2 separate regions of the Homo sapiens genome follow, and region 2 is linked to region 1. Evidence: promoter capture Hi-C in 16 types of primary human blood cells and fetal thymus (Javierre and others, 2016). All regions are on one chromosome and are shown on one strand. Each heading gives the region's core, a stretch centred on a gene start or on the middle of the fragment in contact. The rest is flanking DNA. Distances are from core to core; before and after follow the strand shown.

The links. Contacts are between HindIII fragments. The CHiCAGO score rates a contact against its expected background, and 5 or more counts as called.
Region 2: a fragment that was not itself captured here is called in contact with the fragment with the promoter of OR10K1 in region 1 in 1 of 17 cell types (fetal thymus); the score reaches 8.6 in fetal thymus.

Annotation. Positions count from the first base shown.
Region 1 is chr1:158,460,384-158,463,083 of GRCh38, reverse strand. OR10K1 (olfactory receptor family 10 subfamily K member 1) reads right to left here and starts at 1,250. Exons shown (of 2, transcript NM_001004473.2): 1 at 1,180-1,250. It overlaps LOC107985212 (a long non-coding RNA gene), which reads left to right and starts at 313. Exons shown (of 2, transcript XR_001738256.3): 1 at 313-913; 2 at 1,334-2,700. The HindIII fragment of the contact is 25,948 bases long and covers 1-2,700 here.
Region 2 is chr1:158,246,169-158,248,868 of GRCh38, reverse strand. It overlaps a transcript of CD1A not described here. Among named protein-coding and RNA genes, the nearest start is that of CD1A, 6.9 kb to the left of the region's middle. The HindIII fragment of the contact is 6,630 bases long and covers 1-2,700 here.

The sequences.
Region 1 (2,700 bases), core at 1-2,500:
GGATATGTGGAAGGCACTGAAGCAGAGGATCCCTGAACATTTTACAGAGGAATTTTGACTAAGATAGTATCGGAGTACTATGACCCCTAGGAGCCTTTCTTGCTCAGAGAATCAAAGACTCTCTAGTTAGATGATCTCAAAATCCCCTTAATTGTGATATTTTAGAACGTATGAATAGAATTCAGGCTATGATCCTTGGAGATGCTACTTCAGTGTTTTATTTTTCTAATTCCTCAGATGCTCCACTGGGATTTTATGTAATCTGGATTTAAATAGAAACAAAGTACTTGAGGGTGCTGGGTTCCCCCAAAAGAAGGCAATCTACAGAGTTTTCACGTGTAAAACTTTTAAGAAATATAAATATTTATTTTAAGGAAAACATCAATCAGTTAGCTGAGAGAAATTATGTAAGCAGCTTCAGATAATAAAGGAGTGAAATTTTAACTTCTTAGATACAAATAAAAATCTTTAATTTCTCCAGATTGCCATATTAAAATGGAGTTTAAGTACTAGATTTCAATTATACCTAAAATTATACATCCAGGAGTACACAGCAGAAACAGAAGTAGAAGAGTGAGAGATGAGAGACAAGTGGAGTATCTGTTTCATTTAATCCATGAATCCACCAATGAACAAAAAAGAGAAGTAGAGGAGGAAGGAAGGAAGGAAAGAAGGAAGGGAGGAAGGAAGTAAGGAAGAAAGGAAGGAAGGAAGGAAAAGAAAAAAGAAAATAAAATCTAGCTATGAGTAAGAATGACCCAATATGATCTTCAAGAACAATTCAGATAATTTTTTTTTTTTTTTCAGAAGGAGTCTCACTCTGTTTCCCAGGCTGGAATGCAATGGCACGGTCTCGGCTCACTGCAACTTCTGCCTCCCAGGTTCAAGAAATTCTCCTGCCTCAGCCTCCCAGGTAGCTGGGATTACAGGTGCACGCAACCATGCCTGGCTAATTTTTTTATTTTTAGTAGAGACGGGGTTTCATCATGTTGGCCAGGTTGGTCTCAAACTCCTGACCTCAGGTGATTCACCCATCTTGTCCTCTCAAAGTGTTGGGATTGCAGGGGTGAGCCACTACACCCAGCCAAATTCTGAGAATTATAAAGGCCATTCCCAGTCACTCTTAGTAAGTTCAGTGAAAGGTAGCCTCTGATTCTCCTTTTTAACTCTGCTACTTACCAGAAATGCCATCACTGATCTCCATGGGAGGCACAGAAAGAGGCTTTCTCAAACACTACCCATCATTCAAGTCCAGTCCCCACAAATCCCCAAGCTAGGTCAATGTTCCCACTGCTCGGTAAGTACTTACATTGCTCTCTCCCTTCTAATTTAGAGAGAAGCAGCTATTCAGTATTTGGCAGTCTCCTGACAAGTAGCACCACTGCCACAAATCAGAGCCTGAGGAAATAACAGCAAATGAGAGGGAAGCTGCCTTGAGATAGAAACTCTCATCTGAATCAACAGAGCTAGCCTCCTCCATCTATCAGGACTCCCAGCTTCTCCAGATAAGTCACCATCTTCAGAAGTTCTGATGACCAACGTGGGATGTGGTTATTAGAAGCATGTACTGTAAACACTGGACTCCTGAGGTTAGATCTACTGCACTGGAGCTGTTGTCTTGGGGTTAATTAGGAGTCAAGTTCATTTTGGAAAAAATAATGTCACCAGTTTCTCAAAGGTGGCCTCAGTTGAGGAGCCTGGGGAGTTGAAGTCATGAGCATAATTAGCCCATGTATGCTTTGAAAGTTGAGTCCATTTGAAAGTTGTGATGGATTCTGAAGGAGAGCCCACCACAATTAAGACTGTAATGCAACAGACCAAGTGGAAAATTTTTACTGAATTTTAATCAGAAGACTGATGTATTTGTCCAATGACACTCAACTTCAGTGTTTCTAAGAATCAAAAGAGGGTTGAATGATGTTTTCCAGGGCGCTGCCCCTAGAAACTCTAATTAAGAACATTGAGATGTTTTGCAAAAACCTAAAATTTTAGTAAGTATACTAAATCTAGTTGAGCTCTGTCATCAAACAGTGTGTTATCTTATTAATGCATTTTACCAGAATGACAAAATAATATAGAGTTGTGAATTTTGTTCAAGCTAATCTATAAAGCCAATATAATTCCAACCCAAATCCATGCATAAATTTTGAAGTCACCCTGACAATCAGATTTCCAAAATTTTCATGAAATTATAAAACAATTTTGTAAAGGGCAAGTAATATAGGCCCTCACTCTTCCTAGTAAAAAAAAACTATGCTTTAGTAATAAAAAAGAGCATGCTATTGGTGCAAGAAGAAATAAGTAGTATAGAGACAGAAAGGAGAGCTCAGAAATTAATGTATGTGTATTTGAGAACTTGGTCTTTGGCAGAAGTGACCTCACAAGTCAGTGAGAGAATTATAATTATGTACTAAATAATACTGGGAAGCCTCTGTGTATTCCACCGCTCAGAAGGAGGTGACCTGGTGGAATATGAAACGGTTTACTTGAGGCTCAGTTACTGCACTGGCTCTGTGCCAATACCTAGTACAGCCCCATGTGTCTGCCCAAAGCAGAATATACTCTGAACCAGCAGCCAAAGGATTGTGTTCATTCTCTACTAACAAGAATGTATAAGTCTGAGAACCGACGTTTAAGGGGAGATGAAATGAATCCTTCTGTTATTACTCCTAATGACTTATATGCATAAGTTTGAGCTTT
Region 2 (2,700 bases), core at 24-2,523, 210 kb after region 1:
CAACTCCACTCCTGAGTGTTCACTCAGCTATGATGGGTACAGGGCAGGATCTGAAGGAGGGAACAGAAGGGAACAGGGCTTCTTGGGAGCTGGCTGGGGGTGCTGAGAAATTGGGGGTGGGGGCTGAGAAAGAGCAGAATGCTAGGGAAAAATCAAGAGATAAAATAGGTAAGGAAGGTGACCAGAACTGGAGAAAAGGAAAATAATTAAGAGAGAAGGGGATGGCTATCACTAATCACTGATAATTTTGTACTCCCTGGACACAGGAAACCCCAGAGAAGCAAACTAGTGTGAATAACATATACCCTGATTAGAACTCAATCAGACAGGTGTCCCAGCTATCCTAGGCAAGTCCATATTCTTCCCTTTGCCACCAAACCTTTCCCCAGGATCCACTTTCTTGAACCATTGGTGTTCAGGCCAAAAGCATGTTCCTGTTCACTGTAGCAGCACTTACCTGTTGCTCCTCCAAACGCAAACATGGCTCCTAAATTCTTCCTTCCCCATTGAAGCTCTCCTCAGAACCCAGATATGAAAGCTCCCCTCCCCACATGGTCTCATCTCATCTGACTTCCTCCTCTTCACTAACAGAAACCTCAATTTCCTGGCCACAGAAACCACTGCCTCTCATAACCACATGCCTTTTCTGGGCTTCTCATTTTCCCTCTCACTCTGCTTCAAGTTTTTCCTTGCCATTCTGGCTTCTGGAAGGACTCGCTTTATCTGCCTGTGTGCTGCTGGCCTCTCACGCACATCTCTTACAGTAAAAGGAGCTGTAGACTGAGTCAAGATGAACCCCCACATGGGACACCTGTTGGAGGTGTTGAATTGGAGAGATCCTTAACACTTTGGCCTCAGTTTCTTTATCTGTAAAATAACTAGATTGAAAGAACTGAATAGTCTCTAATATCACTATGGCTTATTCTTTGTGTCTTACTGTGCTCCTGTTCCTTCCCATACATGTGTTCTTCCTCCACCTTTCTCTCTCTTCTCTGTCTTCACTGTCATCCTCCCTTAGCCTTTATCTCAGCTCCCAGAGCCTCCTCTTCAATTTCTCATACTTCCTATCCATTCAATCTAACCTCAGTCCCTCCTCCTGGACTCACTTTCCTAACCTGAAGCATTGCCTTGTCACATGACCCTTGGATTTCTGTGCGTAACACATAAAACAGCCAGGGATTCTGCTTCTGGAAAGACAGCACACTACATGACCTGCAAAGACATACTAACACAAAACACCCAGAAATGCAAGATTTTTAAAAATTATTTTTAAATGCATAGCTGCATTTACAATGAAATAAAGAAAGCTCTCTAGGGGGCAAAGAAATGGAAACCCAGAAAGGCAAACAGGATCCACACCTGGACATATTAAGCATTGTCTTGTATAGATCCCTAGGAGTTTGGCTACTGTTAGTCACTTGGATCAGGAAACAAGGCCTTAGGATTTAAAAAAAAAAAAATAGGTAATAAGACTTGCAACTGAGGCTTCTGCTATATCCTCACTTCAGTGATAGAATGGACAAATAGAGTAGAAAAAAAATCCATCCAATTATATGGATTGGATTGTTTTTTGGTTTTTCTCCTTCTGAGAATTGCTAATCACAGGTCTGAGTTTGAAGTTCAAAAGTATCTACTTGCATGAGCCTGAAATTCACAAACTAAGAAATTAATTTTAAAAGTAATTCCATGCTGTGCACAGTGGCTCACACCTATAATCCCAGCATTTTGAGAGGCCTAGGCGGGCGGATCACCTGAGTTCAGGAGTTTCAGACCAGCCTGGCCAACATGGCGAAACTTTGTCACTACTAAAAAGACAAAAATTAGCCAGGCGTGGTTGCGCACAACTGTAATCTCAGCTACTCAGGAGGCCTAGGCACGAGAATCTCTTGGGCCCAGGAGGCGGAGGTTGCTGTGAGCCAAGATCGCGCCTCTGCACTCCAGTCTGGGCGACAGAGCAAGTCTCTGTCTCAAAACAAAACAAAACAAAACAAAACAAATGTAATTCCAGGTGTGCCACCTGGTGGAATTTAAAGCAAAGTTATCTCAAGAGAACCACCCTCAATACAAGCTGCAAAGGATATTTCACAAAAAGCCTTTCCTAAGATGAGGTCACCATCCAAACTTAGCACAGGGAGAAAGATTCCATGATGAAGGAAAGTTGGCAGACAGAATAAATAGTTTCATTTCCCTAAGATATCACATATAGAGGAATTTATATTTTAAAACCTTAAAGTCAAAAGGTTTGAAAAGACATTATCAAAAAATATCAAACATATTTTAAAGCAAATTAAACTTCTAGAAATATAAACGCTAATTACTATAAAAACTCAATGAGTAGATTAAACAACAAAGACAGAAAGCAATTTAAAAAGACTTCTAAATTGGGAGAGCTGAAGAATTTCCTCTAATGCAATATAGAGATAAAGAAGTGTTGAATACGAAAGAAGTTAAGATATATGAAAATTAGTATGAAATCCAATATGAGCCCAATAGGAATTTCATTAAAAGACAAAACACACAATTGGAAGAGGAAATATTTAAAGAAAGCATGGCTGAAAATTTTCCAGAAATAATGAAAGACATGAATGTTTAGATTCAGAAAAGGCAAAAGCACCAAAGCAGAATTAATGAGTTTTTAAAATAATCTTTATTTTTCATAGTGAAGAAAAAAACTTAAAGATGTAGGTAACTCAGAATATA